Linked DNA regions of Homo sapiens: region 1 is linked to region 2. The links are contacts of gene promoters, found by promoter capture Hi-C in blood cells and fetal thymus (Javierre and others, 2016). All regions are on one chromosome and are shown on one strand. The core of a region is centred on a gene start or on the middle of the fragment in contact, and the rest is flanking DNA. Distances in the headings are between cores, read along the strand shown. Region 1 holds the start of LOC124905078 (a long non-coding RNA gene). Region 2 holds the start of HIRA (histone cell cycle regulator).

Region 1 (4,628 bases), core at 1,052-3,551, 330 kb before region 2:
CTCAATAAGGCTTTTTTTAACTATCATGAAATAGATTTCTGTTTAAAAAATCAGGAAACAATTTTGAGATCAAAAGATACTGACCACAAGGCTAAAAATCCAGGCACCCTGTGTTCTAGGACTAGATATGCCTGGAACTGAAGAACTAAATTGAATCATGGCCCACCTAACGTGCTTGCTTCTCTGGAAAAGACAGCCTTGGCCTACCAGATCTCACCCCCGCCATCCATACAGGAGCTAGGTCCTTTTCATAATTATAAATCCAGGGCTTGCCCCATGACTGGTACTGAAGCACTATTTGATGAGTAAATCAGCAATTGGGACATGCTCTTCTGGCCTAATGTCTGTCTTCCTCAGCCACAATTAACCATTAGACCAAGAACCTGGAACCCTCCATTCCTCCTCAGTGTATTCTAGGTCTTCAGTTTTATTAAAAATTTCTAACTTCTTATTATTTTGCCATAAAAATGGAACATGAATGGAACTGGAGGACATTATGTTAAGTGAAATAAGCCAGGCACAGAAAGACAAACTTCACATGTTCTCATTCATATGTGGGAGCTTAAAAAAAGTTAAACTCATGGAGCTAGAGAGTGGAGTAGTGGTTACCAGAGGCTGGGAAAGGCAGAGGTGAGAAAAAGAGGTTGGTTAATAGGTACAAAAACACAGTTAACTATAGTTAATAATGGTTTATTCTATACTTCAAAATAACTAAATGAGTAGAATCAGAATGTTCCTAACACAAGAAAAGTTACAAATGCTTGAAGTGACAGATACCCCAATTACCATGATTTGATCATTACACATTCTATGCTTGTATCAAAATATCATATATACCCCACACATGTAACTACTGTGTCCATAAAGTTAACAAAAAATTTTTTTAAAGACTAATGCAGGAAAAAGGAAAAAAAAAGCCTTCTAATTTCCCAAACTATACTGAGAAAGAGTTCATTCACTGAATAGAGATTTAGCAACAGAACATTCTTTTTTATTTTTTAGAGATGGGGTCTTACTATGTTGCCCAGGCCAGAGTGCAGTGGTGGCTATTCACAGGCACAATCATGGTGCCTCAAAGTCAAATGACTCTCCCACCTCAGACTACAGGCCTGAGCTACCCCGCCCAGCAGAATATTTTAACAGTGTCCATTCTATTAAAAAAAAAAACAAAAAAAAAAAACACCCTATGGTGTTGTTCAAAGTAAATTCATAGCTCATGTCACAGCCCTCCAAATCTACGCCCTAACATATCATACCCTAGGCCCAGAAAAACTTCAATGCACTACCTTAAATTATTTTTGGAAATAGTTGAGTAAGAAGTAATAAGTAACAACACTGGGGGTTTTCTTTCTCCATACCCCTATATCCTCCAAAAGCAAACGTCAGCCAAGTCTTCTCTGGCAAACAAGGCCCCTTCCCCCATGCACCACATCCACCTTGCCTTGCCTTGGCTGCTTCTAAGTAGTACTTGTCACTCCTGGCTTCCTATATATCAGTATATAGTAAACCTATATATATATATACATATATAGATATGTAAGTGAAACAGCCAGGTGCAGTGGCTCACGCCTGTAATCCCAGCACTTTGGGAAGCCGAGGCGGGTGGATCACAAGGTCAGGAGTTCAAGACCAGCCTGGCCAAGATGTTGAAACCTCGTCTCTACTAAAAACACAAAAATTAGCCAGGTGTGGTGCGGGTGCCTGTAATCCCAGCTACTCTGGAGGCTGAGGCAGAGAACTGCTCGAATCCGGGAGGCGGAAGCTGCAGTAAGCTGAGATTGCACCACTGCACTCCAGCCTGGGCGACAGAGCAAGGCTCTGTCTCGAAAAAAAAAGTAAAGCTTCCTGAGGGCACAGGTCATGTCTGCACTGTTCACTCCTGTGTTCCCAGGGCATAGCCGACCACACTTAGTGTCCATAACTCAAACACACTTGAAGAATACTTCTTCTCTCCATACTCTATGCATGTCTGGGAAAGGCTCCAAAGGCCCAAACAGCCTTCCTCTTTGAGAAGTGCCCATCTGGCCACTCCATGAGTGCCACCTGCCCTGCCCCAGGCTGGGCCAATGAGAAGAGTCTGTAAGGTGATGGGAGTGGGAAGATCCAGGCTAGCCAGACTGAGACAGTCACTTGAAGTTCTGTGCACCCTGAGGCAGAAAGAGGTAAGGGCTAAGACCAGAAGGGCTGAGAAAGGGGAGCAACACCCTTCACAGTCCCATGACCCCAAGGATGGCTGTGCTTCCTCCCTGGGCTCAGGGAAAAGTTCCTCCTACAGCTACTCCTTACAACCAGACAGCTCTGGCTAAAATAGCCCCCACACGGATTTTCTGTCCTTTTCTTTCTTTCTCCAGACTTTTAAAAAAAAAATAGTTATCAAAAGAGGAAAAATAAGCTATCAGCAGAATGACTGTCTTGCTACATCCTGAACACAGCTGGGCTCCCCACTGCTGGGCCTTAGTCCATGGCATCCCCTCTCCCCAGGTCTCAAGACACACCACTCTCCAGGAACCCCTCCCCAAACTCCCCTAACTGAGTCGGCCTTCTTGGCCTAGCCCTGTTTTCCTAAGCAGCCCTTCTCTGTTCTTTTCTTCACACCCTGAGTAGGGTCAGCACACTTTTCCTTCAAGGGCCAGATGATAAGTATTTCCAGGTGGCCAGCTTCACAGGCCACCCTCTCTCTGCCACAGCTGCTCAACCCTGCTGCCGTGGAGCTAAAGCAGCTGCAGATAATATGGGAATGCGTGGGCATAGGCATGTCCAATAAAGCTTTAGCGAAAAACAAAAAAAAACAGTGGCCAGTTGCAGGTATAGTTTGCCAAACCCTGTTCTCGAGTATACATATAGGGACATTTTACATACATGTAAATGTTTTGTTTTTTGAGACAGGGTCTCGCTCTGTCACCCAGGCTGGAATGCAGCGGCATGACCACAGATTACTGCAGCGTAGACACCCTGGGCTCCAGTGATCCTCTTGCCCCAGACTCCCAAGTAGCTGGGACTACAGGCACATACCACCATACTCAGCTAATTTTTTATTTTTTATTTTTAGTAAAGACAAGGTCTTGCTATGTTGCCCAGGCTGGTCTCGAACTCCTGAGCTCAAGCAATCTTCTCACCTTATGCTCTCAAAGTTTTGGGATTACAGGCATGAGCCACTGTGTCTGGCTGAGGGACACATCTTTATTGCTGCCCCATACTCCATGTCACCAACACCCCACACATGGAGGCATGCACTAAATGCCTAATGAACTGCACAGCTCAAAATCTTCCCATATTCTGCTAGCAGACAATGAAGTGTCAGAAGTTCTCCAATAGGGAAGGTTTTTCTCCCTTCTTGATCCATCTGTCAAGCCGGGTCTATTCTGGAAGCAACTGAAGATGTGGATCACTCATTAACACTGGCACCTACTCTGTGCCAGGCAGTTCTCCAGGTGACAGGGCTGTGGTAATGAACAAAGAAAGTCAATTCCAGGACATGACAGAGCTTGCATCCAGCACAGCACACCAGATGGTGACTCCAACAGGTCAAACTGGCATTGCTTTAGCTGGACATCAACACTGCGTTTCCACTGACTACGCGTGGTGACTCACGCCTGTTACCCCAACACTTTGGGAGGCCAAGGCAGGTAGATTACTTAAGCCCAGGAGTTCGAGACCAGCCTGGCCAACATGGTGAAATCCCAGCTCTACTAAAAATACAAAACATAAGCCAGATGTGGTGGTGTGCATGCCTGTAGTCCCAGCTACTCAGGAGGCTGAGGTGGGAGAATCACCTCAGCCTGAGAAGTCAAGACTGCAGTGAGTCACGATCACACCACTGTACTCCAACCTGTCTCAAAAAAACAAAACACCACCACCAACAAAAAATTGCCTGTCCTTTCTCAATATCCTCCACAGTCTCTCTGTAAAGCAGTAAGTGCAACTTCTGCCACATACAAAGTTGCTTAAAAACAGTCACCCTTGGCCAGGCGTGGTGGCTCACGCCTGTAATCCCAGCACTTTGGGAGGCCAAGGCACGTGGATCACAAGGTCAGGAGTTCAAGACCAGCCTGGCCAAGATGGTGAAACCTTGACTCTACTAAAAATACAAAAAAATTAGCTGGGCATGGTGGCACATGTCTGTAATCCCAGCTACTCTGGAGGCTGAGGCAGAGAATTTCTTAAACCCAGGAGGCAGAGGTTGCAGTGAGCCGAGATTGTACCACTGCACTCCAGCCTGGACGACAGAGCAAGATTCTGTCTTTAAAAAAAAAAAAGTCACCCTTGACCCAGTATGGTGGCTCATGCCTATAATCCCAGCACTTTGGGAGGCCAAGGTAGGAGGATCACTTGAGGCTAGGAGTTTGAGACCAGCCTGGACAAGGCGAAACCCTGTCCCTACTAAAATACAAACATTAGCTGGACGTGGTGGCACACACCTGTAATCCCAGCTACTCGGAAGGCTGAGACACAAGAATCGCTTGAACCGGGGAGGCGAGGTTGCAGTGAGCCAAGATCACGCTACTGCACTCCAGCCTGTACAACAGAACAAGACTCTGTCTCAAAAAAAAGAAAAAGAAAGTCACCCCTTTTCACTGATGGCTTTACAAGGTCCTGTCCCAGGCCTTCTGGTGATGACTGTCACCTTG
Region 2 (4,000 bases), core at 904-3,403:
TAGAGAGGCCCTCAGCAATAAGGGCCACTGTTGTGCTTGCTCTGCCAGGCTGATGCACTTGGCTGCTGATCTGAGTGTAGTCTCTTATTCATTTGTACCTAGTTCGTCACTTAAGCATCTTGACTTACTTATGTTTACATAGCATAAAACTTTTGGCCTACAAAGGAGCTTATCAAAAAGGAACAAGTTATATGACAGTAGAAGAGAGGCTGGAGAAGGGTAGGCTATTCACAAAAACTGATTTAGGTAAAGCATTTTAAAATAAAAATTCTATCAGACCTTCACACAGTAAACTAGTTCATAATAACATTTTTCCTTTCCTAATCACAAGCATCATAATTCATAATTACAATATTTGTCCAGTTCTCCAGGGAAAGATCTGCACAGTACACATCAGGAAATGCTCTTGGAGATCAACAGGAGAAATGAAACTAAAACTCAAGGCTTCGGCTTTCATGCACAGTAAACCTAACTTCATCTTGATAAATTATGAAAACCTCAGCTTTCTTACCTGTTTTAGCCAATATTTATCACATACCCATCATGTGGAAGAGGTTGTTCAATGCAGTAGGGCATACAGAAGGGACTGAGGCAGTCCCTACCCTGGGGGCATATGGAAAGTACCCTCACACCTTCCATGCCAGGCAAAACACACAGACAGTGATACAGCACATCTACCGGGGTAACTCAGGATGAACAGTTTCAAAAGAAACACGTGAACCTAGTCCCTGAAAAATGGGAAAGATGTCACACAAGATGGAAGGAGAGAGAGGTGGCAGGAGGAGAACACACACATGATCAGTTCAGTTTAGTTGTGGTAGTAGAGAGCATCCTGGGACCAAATTCAAAACGAAAAAGCCACATGTTAAAATATCTATTCTCGCTCCTAAAGAAAACGGTAGCACCCTGTAGTCGCACTGCAAAGTAGAAATGAGGAACAAGACAGCATCAGGGTGACCCTTTGCCTGTCAACAGTCAGACAGGCCAGAATCAGGCCCTGGGCTGGAGGAGTCTCCCTGGGTTGATTTCTGTGCTACAGTGCTGTCAGCAGAGTGGGGTGGGGGAGGGGGAGGCGCGCTTTTTTCATCTACCCGGGGAGCAAACACCAACTCCTGCAGCAGTTCTGCCAACAAGGCAGAACTATGACGAAACTGATTACCACTAGCCTCTCTGTATCAGAGTCAAGATATGGGGTGGATGAGTCCGTTCCCCAAGGGTGTGCTTTGGAGCCACTGCCACAGAGCTAAGAAGCCCCTCTGCTAGAACACACCTGTGCCCTATCTGCCCAACCCTAGTTCACCCTGATGTCCCAGCTCAGCATTAATCGTGGATCCTTCGCGGGGGCCCGGGGCCCCCAAACCCTCCTATTTAGGGACCACAATTCCCCAACTGGGGGCACTGTCCCCAGATCCAGAGGGGCAGTAACAGTCCCTCTTGCAGATTTCGGATCTTCATCCTGCCACTGAAAGGCCACAAGGGGGATTTCATCCCGGTTTCACCTTCAGGACCGTCTGAGCACTTCTCGGGCGATGCAGACCAGTGGAAGGCACTGGCTGGCACCAAGGCCCGCTCCTGGGAGCCAGGCCGCGGCCCCTCCAAGGACCACAGGTGGGCAGCGGAAGACTCAGAGCAAGAGCCAGGGGCGAAGATGGCCCTCGCTGCGGTCAACCCGGAGCACGTGCTGGGGCTCACCAGCCTCTCCGCGCTGAGGACAAAGTCCGCTCCCGCCGGCTTCTTGGCTTGGGCACCGGGTACCGGGCGTCAGGGGCGAGACAGGCAGGACTTGCGCGCGCCCCGACTCGACTCCAGACCCCGACCCGACTCCGGGCTCGGCCTCCCGCGACCCCTGCGCGCACTCACCATTGTGGTTGACCCAGGTCGGCTTCAGGAGCTTCATTGTTCGGCCGCCGCCGCCGCCGGGCTGAGGCGAGCGCCGGGTCCCTCAGCGCGCCCGGGCCATGGAGCCACCGCCGCCGCTTCCTCCCGCGCCACCCGCCCTCCGGCCGCCGCCCGCCCCGCGCCCTCAGGGCCGCCGCGCCATCGCCGGCCCGCGCCCCCCTCCGCCGCCACAGCCGCCACCCGCGCTCGGCCGCCGCCGCCGCCACCACAGCCGCATCCCCTGCGCCGCTCCTCCTCAGGCGGCTCCCGGGCAACGCCGGAAGTCACGGCGCGCACCTGCCAAATCGCCCCGGCGGGAAACCGCTCCCCACGCGGACTGGGCCGCCCCGGCTCCTCCGCTGGCAGGGGCTTCGGGTCGGGCCCGGGCGCGGGCGCCCCAGAAAGGGCGGTTCGCCTGGACGGCGGACAGCGAGCGGGGCCTGCAGTTGCAACCCGGGCCGCCCGCAGAGGCAGGCGGGGCCCAGGTGGCGTGGACCGCCCGTCACCAGCTCTGCCTCGCCAGTCTGAGTCCGACTTATTAACTAGCTTCCGTCATTCATCAACACGCGCTATTGGGCATCTTGCGAGCGCCGGGCTCCGCGCCGGCGCCGGAATGCGATCCGGGCTTCGGACTCGAACGAATGCGGGGGACGAGCCAACCCTGGTGGGGGAGGCTGGGGCGGACGCGTTTATTAGAAGATCGGGGCCGTTTGCCTAGACATGAACATTTGGACTCGGAGGAGCAGAGGGACGCCCCCTCGGCCGCTCCGGCTGCACTGCGGAGCCGAGGCCCGCGCGAGGGCGCAGACCGACCAACCGGCTAGGGCCTGACTGGCTAGACTGTGCCCGCTGCAGAGGCGCGCTCCCAGCACAGGGCGGGGACGGAAGGGAGGACCCCGAGCCGCGTGAAACGCAAGGCCCTCGTGTGTGCGCAGCTGACACCCTAGGCGGGGCTGCGTCGGGGGCGGGGACAGGCGCGTCCCAGCCCACGCAGCCGGAACGCCTGAGCGCTGGGCGCCTGGTCTGCCGGACCTCAGCAGGGGGCACCGCGGGCCGGACTGTGGAGGGGCGCACGCCCGGAAGCGGCGAGGGTAGCCATGACGGCCTCCGTGCTGCGAAGTATCTCGCTAGCCCTGCGCCCGACTAGCGGGTGAGTGCGGACGCTGGCCGGATAGCGGAGTGCCCAGGGCGCGTGCGGGGTCTTCGCGACTGTCCGCCAGGACTCGCCTGTGCTCCCTGCTCGCCTCCCAGTCCACGAATATCTCAGGGATGAGCCATCTGGTCGTGACTCTTATGCATGAAAATCTGAGCACCCTGGCGAGCAGCGGTCCTGCTTAAGTCCTCTGTGGTCTGAACGAAAGATTTTGAAAAACCTTCCACGTTGACCTTGCTGTCATATCAAGTAGTTAGAAGTGCCCCGGGTTTGGGAGCATTGCAATTTTTTATTTTCCTGTGAAGTGGGAGAGAATCAGATATTTATTTATTTATTTGAGACAGAGTCTCGCTCTGTCGCCCAGGCTGGAGTGCAGTGGCGCGATTTCGGCTCACTGCAACCTCTGCCTCCCGGGTTCAAGCAGTTCTGCCCCGGCCTCCCGAGTAGCTCGGATTACAGGCGCCCAACACCACGCCCGGCTAATTTTTGTATTTTTAGTAGAGACGGGGTTTCACCATGTTGGCCAGGCTGGTCTTGAACTCCTGACCTCGCGATCCACCCGCCTCGGCCTCCCAAAGTGCTGGGATTACAGACGTGAGCAACCGCGCCTAGCCTGGAGAAGCAGATATTTATACATACTCTTGTATCTTTCAGGCTTCTGGGAACTTGGCAGACGCAGCTTAGAGAGACTCACCAGCGAGCGTCATTGTTGTCTTTCTGGGAACTCATTCCCATGAGGTAAAACTCAATCGAGGGCCTGACCTCTGGGGGTAAAGGTGTCAGTCTATGTGTAGAGAACAAAGCAAGAATGCTGGATGTGTGGTTTGCAAAATTAACAGCCTACAAAGTTTCTCAGTTAAATTTAGGCCGATGCTTTTCTGTTTTTCCAACATTTTCCAAACCATAGATTGTTGTTTGTAATTTTTAAAATTTGAGCAGTTTCTCAAGAAGTAAGTATTCTCCTTGAAG

What was found. The method cuts DNA at HindIII sites, captures the fragments that hold promoters and counts their contacts. A CHiCAGO score of 5 or more calls a contact.
Region 1: a contact is called between a fragment that was not itself captured here and the fragment with the promoter of HIRA in region 2, in 2 of 17 cell types (naive CD4 T cells and naive CD8 T cells). The highest score is 7.0, in naive CD4 T cells.

The regions. Positions count from the first base shown.
Region 1 is chr22:19,095,727-19,100,354 of GRCh38, forward strand. The region is part of intron 1 of DGCR2 (DiGeorge syndrome critical region gene 2); the gene reads right to left. LOC124905078 (a long non-coding RNA gene) reads right to left here and starts at 4,458. Exons shown (of 2, transcript XR_007068002.1): 1 at 4,419-4,458; 2 at 1-3,440. The HindIII fragment of the contact is 925 bases long and covers 1,840-2,764 here.
Region 2 is chr22:19,429,580-19,433,579 of GRCh38, forward strand. HIRA (histone cell cycle regulator) reads right to left here and starts at 2,154. Exons shown (of 25, transcript NM_003325.4): 1 at 1,861-2,154. The coding sequence starts at 1,897. MRPL40 (mitochondrial ribosomal protein L40) reads left to right here and starts at 2,966. Exons shown (of 4, transcript NM_003776.4): 1 at 2,966-3,028; 2 at 3,686-3,769. The coding sequence starts at 2,976. RefSeq lists enhancers at 621-750, 991-1,060, 1,009-1,756 and silencers at 2,041-2,440, 2,731-3,040. The HindIII fragment of the contact is 6,181 bases long and covers 1-4,000 here.